Linked DNA regions of Homo sapiens: all the other regions are linked to region 2. Evidence: promoter capture Hi-C in human tissues and cell types (Jung and others, 2019). All regions are on one chromosome and are shown on one strand. Each heading gives the region's core, a stretch centred on a gene start or on the middle of the fragment in contact. The rest is flanking DNA. Distances are from core to core; before and after follow the strand shown.

What was found. Contacts are between HindIII fragments. The study calls those that stand out against the background at their distance.
Region 1: the fragment with the promoter of ZNF552 here is called in contact with the fragment with the promoter of ZNF446 in region 2 in 1 of the 25 tissues and cell types used here (spleen).
Region 3: the fragment with the promoter of ZNF776 here is called in contact with the fragment with the promoter of ZNF446 in region 2 in 1 of the 25 tissues and cell types used here (spleen).

Annotation. Positions count from the first base shown.
Region 1 is chr19:57,813,633-57,816,345 of GRCh38, reverse strand. It overlaps ZNF552 (zinc finger protein 552), which reads left to right and starts at 1,433. Exons shown (of 3, transcript NM_024762.3): 1 at 1,433-1,635. The coding sequence starts at 1,603. RefSeq lists an enhancer at 1,109-1,158. The HindIII fragment of the contact is 37,727 bases long and covers 1-2,713 here.
Region 2 is chr19:58,475,098-58,477,797 of GRCh38, reverse strand. ZNF446 (zinc finger protein 446) reads right to left here and starts at 1,446. Exons shown (of 7, transcript NM_017908.4): 1 at 1,294-1,446; 2 at 238-619; 3 at 1-161. The coding sequence starts at 579. ZNF324 (zinc finger protein 324) reads right to left here. Exons shown (of 4, transcript NM_014347.3): 4 at 2,362-2,700. RefSeq lists enhancers at 1,188-1,387, 1,542-1,836, 1,658-1,907, 2,148-2,207, 2,268-2,357. The HindIII fragment of the contact is 17,703 bases long and covers 1-2,700 here.
Region 3 is chr19:57,745,428-57,748,132 of GRCh38, reverse strand. ZNF776 (zinc finger protein 776) reads right to left here and starts at 1,318. Exons shown (of 3, transcript NM_173632.4): 1 at 1,042-1,318. The coding sequence starts at 1,074. RefSeq lists an enhancer at 1,257-1,306. The HindIII fragment of the contact is 15,716 bases long and covers 1-2,705 here.

The sequences.
Region 1 (2,713 bases), core at 184-2,683, 660 kb after region 2:
TCTCCCTTAAATCCTTTCTTGAAATGTTTCAACATAGTTCCTAGTGAAGTGGGCTTACTTTGTGCCTGACCCATGCTTCTTTGAGACAAAACACCACGCTCACACCACACGCACACCACAAAACAAAGAACAGGTAAAAAGGGCACACATACACTTTTACCGTTTACACCAAACCAGAATCAAAATCCAAATCAGAGTATCCAGAAATCCAAGCCAGGTCAAAACCAAAACGAAAGTATCAAGCAATCCAAATCAAGTCAAAAACAAAAACCAAAGTGCCGGTACAGGCATGCCGTGGGTGATCAGGCCACCCTTCCACTCAAATGGAGTGGGCAAGTTCCAAAGACTAGTCTTACCAAGTTTCAGATGTCCGGACTCCAAGTGCCTGTTCCTTCCCAGTGTTCAGCCGCTGCATTGATCCTCTGTGGGGGCCTGCCACACGCCACTCTGGCGAGGTGTTCCACTGGGGCAATTGCCTACCCGGGAGTGCTCTCAGGTTCTGCGTCCCTCAAGCTGGCCAGAGTCCCCTGTAGGGATGCTCCACAGGGCAGGCCTAAGCTGCCTAAGGGGCTGCCTCGACTATCTGTTAATCACCTGGCTTCCCAGTCAGGGAACCAAGAAATGTAGCAGGACAAGCCGCAGGGCTGTATTCAGCCTGGAGCTTTGGCAAGACTCACATCTCCAACTACCAAGCTCCCCAAGTGAGGAATTCCTGTCCCTTTTAAGGGCTTACAACTCTAAGGGGGTCCACATGAGAGGTTTGTGATCGATTGAGCAAGCAGGGGGTACACGACTGGGGGCTGCATGCAGTGGTAATCAGAACGGAACAGAACAGGACAGGGATTTTCACAATGCTTTTCCATACAATGTCTGGAATCCATAGATAACATAACCGGTTTGGTCAGGGGTCGATCTTTAACCAGGCCCAGGGTTGGCACCTGGCTGTCTGCCTGTGGATTTCATTTCTGCCTTTTAGTTTTTACTTGTTTCTTTGGAGGCAGAAATTGGGCATAAAACAATATGAGAGGTGGTCTCCTCCCTTAACAGCACAAACGCTTAATTAACATTTCTTTTTCTTTTGAGACAGGTTCTGTCGCCCAGGCTGGAGTGCAGTGGTGCAGTCATAGCTCAGTGCAGCCTGGACCACCTGGGCTCAAGCAGTCCTGACACCTCAGCCTCTCAAAATTTGGGATTACAGGCGCGCGCCACCGTGCGGGTCAGGAGGCTTCCCTGAGGGCCCCGGAGGTGGAGCTGGGCTTTTCCTTCCGAAGCGCCCCTGGGAATCTCTCTCTTTACGGCCTTGGAACCTGGGAAACTACATTACCCAGAAAGCTCTGCGTCAAATGACAGCACGGCAGAGCCAGTGAGAGTTCACATTGAAGGCGTTTCCGTGTGCGCAAGTAAGGTAGAGGCGGGACTCCCGGCGCCCTTTAGTAGCGACCATTTCCATTGGCGTTAGGGAGTCCTTGGAGCGCTGTGTTGGGACCGTGGTGGTGACTGGATCCAGGAGGTCGAGAGTCGTTCTTCTCTTTGCACAGACGTGACTCTGCAGCTCTTTAACGGCGCCCGCTGCTCTCAACCCAGCTTACCCCACGTGGTCCCATGGCGGCGGCCGCGCTAAGGTTCCCCGTTCAGGTAATTGTGGCGCCTTCCGTGCTCTCCGGTCACCTCCTAGTCACACAAGTCCTAAAGCAGCGAGGGAGCGGCACCTGTTTACGGCTCTGCAACCCGGACCCGGCGTCGGGACACTGAGGCGCTCTCGGGAGGGATCCCTGTTTCAGACACCCGTGGGATGCGGTGGGGAGAGCGACAGGTACAGGGAGGGGCGCGGGCAATGGCCTGGAGATGGACGGATCCGGGAGGATGGAACCTGGGGTCCACAGGCGCCTGTAGGGAACAACCTGTGAGGCGGAACTCCTCCTGGAAAAGCAAGGAGGCTGGGGGCTGTGAAATCATTGCGAGGACACTAGAAATAGGAGAATTTCCAAGAAAGAAGGGACTGGATCAAAGTCCAGGCTTTTAAAGTTTCCTAAAGGCCAAATAAATAACAGAGTAGAGAGGGGATGACGTTGGGGCCCTTTGAGATTGAATCCTTGTAGATCATATAGGTGGTAGAGATGACACTTTGTGCTGAGACACGCAGGTTAGACAATAGTCCAAGGTCACCTGGCTCCGTGGACACAAAAGCGTTCAGGGAGGCCTGAGCTTACCAGATCCTATCAGGGACACAGTCCTGTAAAGTCAGCCTCTTCCCTCAGGCCTTTATGGCTGTAGAAGCATTTAAGGAACGCATACAAGAAAGTGGAGGGTGGGGCCGGGTGCAGTGGCTCACTCCTGTAATCCCAGCACTTTGGGAGGCCTAGGCGGGTTGGTCCGGAGGTAGAGACCAGCCTGACCAACCATGGAGAAACCCTGTCTCTACTAAAAATACAAAATTAGCCAGGCGTGGTGGCGCATGCCTGTAATCCCAGCTACTTGGGAAACTGAGGCAGCAGACTCGCTTGAACCCGGGAGGCGGAGGTTGCGTGAGCCGAGATCGCGCCATTGCACTCCACCCTGGGTGACAGAGCGAGACTCCGTATCAAAAAAAAAAAAAAAAAAAAAAAAAAAAGAATGAGGTGCGTTCAGAGAGGGTATCTCTGCTGTGCTGAAGGTGCCACATTGGGCTTTCCATGACCTCGGCCATACTAGGGGAAGTGCCTGTCAGGAGGGG
Region 2 (2,700 bases), core at 197-2,696:
TCCTTCACACTGCAGCTGAGCTGGACAGACCCCTCTATTCTGGTGTCCTGGGGACCTTCCCCAGGGGACTCCACTGTCCCTGAGGGGTGGGGGCTCCCAAGTGGTTCCTCTGTCTTCTGGGCTGCAGGGAGCACCTCCTGCTTCAGGACATGGGCTGTGATCTGAGGAGAAGAGGTAGGTCACAATGGCTCTAGCCAGGGTCTATCCCTCCAAGAAGCTGATGCCAGCCACACTCACCCAGCCCAACAGTTGCCCAGGGTCATGCTGCAGTCCTTCGACTAGGGCAGCGGCCTCCTCAGGACTGCCTGGCCGCTGACCGCGCACCCAGGCCTGGATCTCGGGAGGCAGTGTGCCCAGGAACTGCTCCAGCACCAGCATCTCCAGCATCTGCTCCTTGGAGTGTGCCTCAGGCTGCAGCCACTGGCAACACAGCTCACGCAGCCGGGCCAGGGCTTCTCGGGGACCTGCCACCTCCTGGTAGCAGAACCCTCGGAAGCGGAGGCGGGCAGTCTCAGGCTCCTCAAGGGTGGTCTCTGGGTCCATGACGGGCAGGCATGGGGGACCCAGAGGGGATGGCATTCTTGCTCAAGGGGGTGGTCTTGGAATCGTCAAGATGGGCCTACAGAAAAGGAAGGGTCGGAATGTCAGCCAAGAGAATCTGGCCAGGGGAAGGCAGACACCAGGCTCAGCCCAGGGGGCTGAGACCAGGACCAAGTGTACTCTGAGGCCAGAAGAGATAAGGCCAAGAAAGCTTCATGGAAGGAGGAGGGTCACAGGACCCAAACAATGATGGCAAATGAGAGCAGGAGGAAGCCTCAGGGACAAATGCTTGGACGCAAGGTGTCCAGGGAGCTTCCTGGAAATTGCAAACAGTTGGGTCCAGCAGGGGACTGCTGGGAGATGACGCTAAAGAGGTGGAGAAAGACAGTCATCACAGAGTTCCAGCGCCAGGCTGAGGAGCCACAGTGTCTAGCCGAGGTGCGAGGAGAGTGGACCAGGGTGGGCGGGTAGAAGGTGGGGCCAGGCTGTAATGTACGGGGACGAGTCGCCCTCCACAATCTCGGGGAGGTTGACTGGGTGGGACCTCCTTTAGGAATGGCTCTGGGGAGGGGGCACGTGGACATCGTGCTCGCTGACCACAGCGAGCCGTGGGCGACTCACACTGCCGGGGCCCGTGCATGTGAAAACGAAAAGCAAAGGCCAAGAAAAACGGGGCCAAAGCTCCACGTTGCGCGGAGTCGAGGGATGGCCACAGCATCCCGGCCCTGAAGGTCTGCAGTGAAAGACGCCCACCTGGACGGGCCTGAGAGACCAGGCCTGACACCCGGCCTATCCGAGGGATGCTCGAACTTCGGGATCTGTCCCCAAAAGGGGAAGGCAAGAGGGAGGCGTTCCAAGAGGACTTGCCAGGCCCGGCCCCCCGGAACGGCGTTGAGGGTAGGAAAGGCCTGAGCGAAGGCTGAGGTGACGCGCGCGGCCTGTCGGGAAGTGGGCGGGCCCTCCAGGGCGCCGACAGCAGGAGCCGTTCAGGCCCCAGAGGGCGACCCCAAGCCCTCCCACGGGGTGGAAAGGCTGCGCCCACTCTGGCAGCCTGCGCTCACCTCAACCCGGAGCGGTTGCTTGGAGGCCGCTTCCCGGATGTGGCGCCGCACAACGCGGGGCGCCTCAGCCGGGTGTTGCCCCGGCGACGCCGCGCTGACCAATCTCTCGCCTGCACCGAAGGCACCGCCCATGCCCTTTGAACTACATTTCCCATGAGCATCAGCAAGACAGGCGCGACCGTGACCCGCTGACCCGCATTTGCAGCAGCCTCTGACGCCTGAGAGGCGCTCTGTTCCTCTAGGAGGTACGGCAGAGTCCCAGGGTTATATGGTCTCCCTCCGCTCTGAGAGCAGCTCTTCCCGGGTTATAAACTTGCGCGTCTGTACAGTGGGCCGGTTTCTATTGGCAGGTGAGGGGAGGGGGTTTTGCCCAATCAGAGGTGGCGCTTGCTTGGCCCCGCCGCCCCCACGCCATTCCCCGGGCCAGCCCCTAGATAACGCTAGGGCATATCCGCCCGCCTCCAGCTGTTCCCGTGGCAACGTTCAGGAGCGTTGCCTCGACTTCCGAAGAGGCTGGAAGTGGCGGCCCAGTGGTTTCCTAGGTCGAGTAGTTCGCTGGGACTCGCTTCCAAGTGGACCCGGGAGAGGCGGTGGTGTAGAAGACCACCCTGAGCCTGGGCTTTCTCCCGCCAGGAGGGTGCGAGGGCCATCTTTGACCTCTGTTAAGCGCCCTAAGGAGGTACCGACGGTTGTGACCGCAGTCTCTGACGTCTTCAGATGTCAGTCCTACAAAGTCGGGGGTGGAGGTTTCCCTCCAGGCTGATCGGACATGCTCAACCGTTTATTTACCTTTGAATTTGGGGAGCAGAACTAGCCAGGGTGACACTAGTTTCTCCCAATAAGCAGTGTTACAGTTTTCTAAATCTGTGGGGTCAGTTTTGCTTCCACACTTAAAAGTGGCCGAGCCATTACTTAGTCAGTCCTAAATTACACCGCCTGTTTTGGTTTCTTTGGATACCTGGGAATCCCTGCTGCCTGCTCTGGATGAAGAGCAGTGGTCTTGATCACCGATTGGAAGCACCGAGCATGTGCGTGGATGAGACTTGTCAACTCGGAGCTTTCCAACGGCCTCCTCAGGTTGTTTTTGGGGATGAGGTGC
Region 3 (2,705 bases), core at 69-2,568, 730 kb after region 2:
CATCTTATTTCCTCCTCTCTCAACCCCACAGTCTGTTCTCCACTGTACAGCCAGAGGAGACTACAGCCAGATGAAACTGTGGCAACATCACCTCCTCCCTCTGGTCAGTTTCACCTCTAAGCATTTCACATCCTGGTACTAACTCCTGGGTTAACCTTCCAAGTATGTTTATACTGGTTGACAGAAATGGGAATACCTCCATATATCCTGTGTCACAGACTTTGGATCCTGGGTTTAAGGTTCCTCCAGGGTTCCCATATCAAAAAACTTAAAAAAAAAAAAAAAAAGGTACCTAAGAATCCCAGGACATCCCAATCTAAAGAGCATGTGGATAGGAGTTAGGGCCAGTGAGGGAATAACACCCTCCGCTTCCCTGCGGAGGTTCTGCAAGTGCTTCTGCAGCCAGGAGTTCCTGAGAGGAGAGGCACAAGCTACAAGAATGTATCCCTGATGAGATTTGATAAGCTCAGGCCTCCCTGAACTCTTTCTTGGCCCTGTAACTAGGTAAACGCGAGTTGGTTGTCTGAACTGAGCGCCTCAGTACAAAATGTCATCTCTTAGCACCTATCTGATCTGTAGAGGTTGAACAAGAATTCAACCTCCCAGGGCCCAAAAGTCATCCCCTGTGTTCTTTTTCGACTGGACTTTGGGAAACCTTTAAAGCCTGGACATTGATCTTTTCCTTCCTTTGTTGGAAGCTGTCCATGGCTTCCAGCGTTCTCAGGGTGAATACACGGTCCTCAGCCTGCTCTTCCAGGAGGAGCTCTGCCTCACACTTTGCTCCCGACAGGTGCCTGTGGACCCTAGGTTACGATCCTCTCGGCTCAGTTCATCTCCAGGCCTTTGCCTGCACCGCTCCCTGTGCCTGTAGCTCTCCTGAGCGCATCCCGCGGGTGTCAAAAACGGGGGCCCATAGAGAGCGCCTCAGTGTCCCGACGCCGGGTTCAGGGTGTAAAACCTTGAGCAGGCGCCGCTTCCTCTCTGCTTTTGGACTTAGGTAAAGATGAGGTGACCTGAGGGCACGGAAGACGCCACAATTACCTGAGCCGGGGGCCTCAGCGCGGCCGCCGCCATCCGACTGGGTGGGGAAAGCGGGGTCGAAAGGAGGGGGCGAGCAGTGCAGGTACCCGGGCACGGTGGTCCCGATCCCGGCCTTGGTGCGGGTCACGCCTAGCGCCTTTAAGGAGCTGCAGAGCAGCCTCTGTGCAGTCGGGACAACGTCTCGTCTCCACCTTCTGGGTTCAGTCACTTCTACACGACCCAACACTCCGCGGTCTCTCACTGGAAAATACACCCAACACCAATCAAAATGGCCACTAGTAGAGGACGCCGGAAGTCCCACCTTTATACTGTTTCCGCGGAAACGCCTTTATTTTGAGCCCTCATTGGCTCTGACGCGCTGTCATTCGACGCAGAGATTTCTGGGTTATGTAGTTTCCTCAGGTTCCAAGACAGTTCCAAGGCGGTAAAGAAGGCCTTCTCAGAGGCGCTTGATTGCACAGAGTGGTGAATAAACACTACTCTGGCCTAAGTGTCATCTTCCCTCAATTTGACTATACTTCTGCATGTATCTATTTCATGTCTATTTTCTCCTTGAAAGTCTATATCCCCTGTCAAACTATGCTGTCAGGTATACCCTACCATCACGTTCACTTACTTGCAGGAAAGGCCCAGCTCCATCTCAGCGGCCTGTCCTTAAAGTGCATGTCCTTCTAGGGTAGAGGATAGTCTCACCTAGCCTTAGAACCCGTATTGAGATTTTTGGAGATTAGTGTCTGTAACTGATCACTCAAGTATTTGAAAAAATATTATTTTAGATTTTGGGGAACTCGAGCTCTCCGATGCTAAACTTATTATTTAGGATGCCCCCAAAGACTAAAAATCCAAATTATCATAACGTTTTGAACAGTCTTTCAGTCGCAAAATCCCGGTACTGGCAGCAGAGGCTGATAAACATTATTGTGTTATAAATTCACATGAATGCACTCTGAGGCATTAGAGTCAGTTTCTCAGTCTGTCAGGGACAAGAGAGAACTAATCCAGATAGGACAAGACAAGGAAGATAGAGGAGAAATGTTGTGTTCCCTAAAGCAGGAATACATGCTGAATCTCTGTCTGTGATTCCCACAGAAGACAACTCTCCTGCCTATAAAATCAATCATAGTGTCCAGTACATTGAGCAACACTTTTATCCACTTAGTATCCCTCGCTTGAGATTCCAACTTATATTCAATTAATTCTGGATTAATTTATCTAAGATTTATCAATCTTACAGGAAGACCAATGAAAGAAATGCTATTTTGGTAGTGATAAATGGCTGCAGTTTTCAAAGGTGGGGCACGTATGCAGAAGATGCTCTCCACCTGTTGATATTGGTTGTGTCTTAAATCCAGGAGTTCATGTTATTGCTGGGAAGTGGCTATTTTTTTTTTTTTGTATTAGATAAAACAGACTTTATTTATTTCTTTTCTTTTTTTTTTTTTGTGACTATTCTTTATTTCTGTTTCCATGGCAAGGAGTGTTTTGCCTAATAAATTAATGTTATGGATGGGATTACAGGCATGAGCCACCATACCTGGCTAATTTTGTATTTTTAGTAGAGACGGGGTTTCTCCATGTTGGTCAGGCTGGTCTCGAACTCTCAACCTCAGGTGATCCACCTGTCTCGGCCTCCCAAAGTGCTGGGATTAAAGGCATGAGCCACT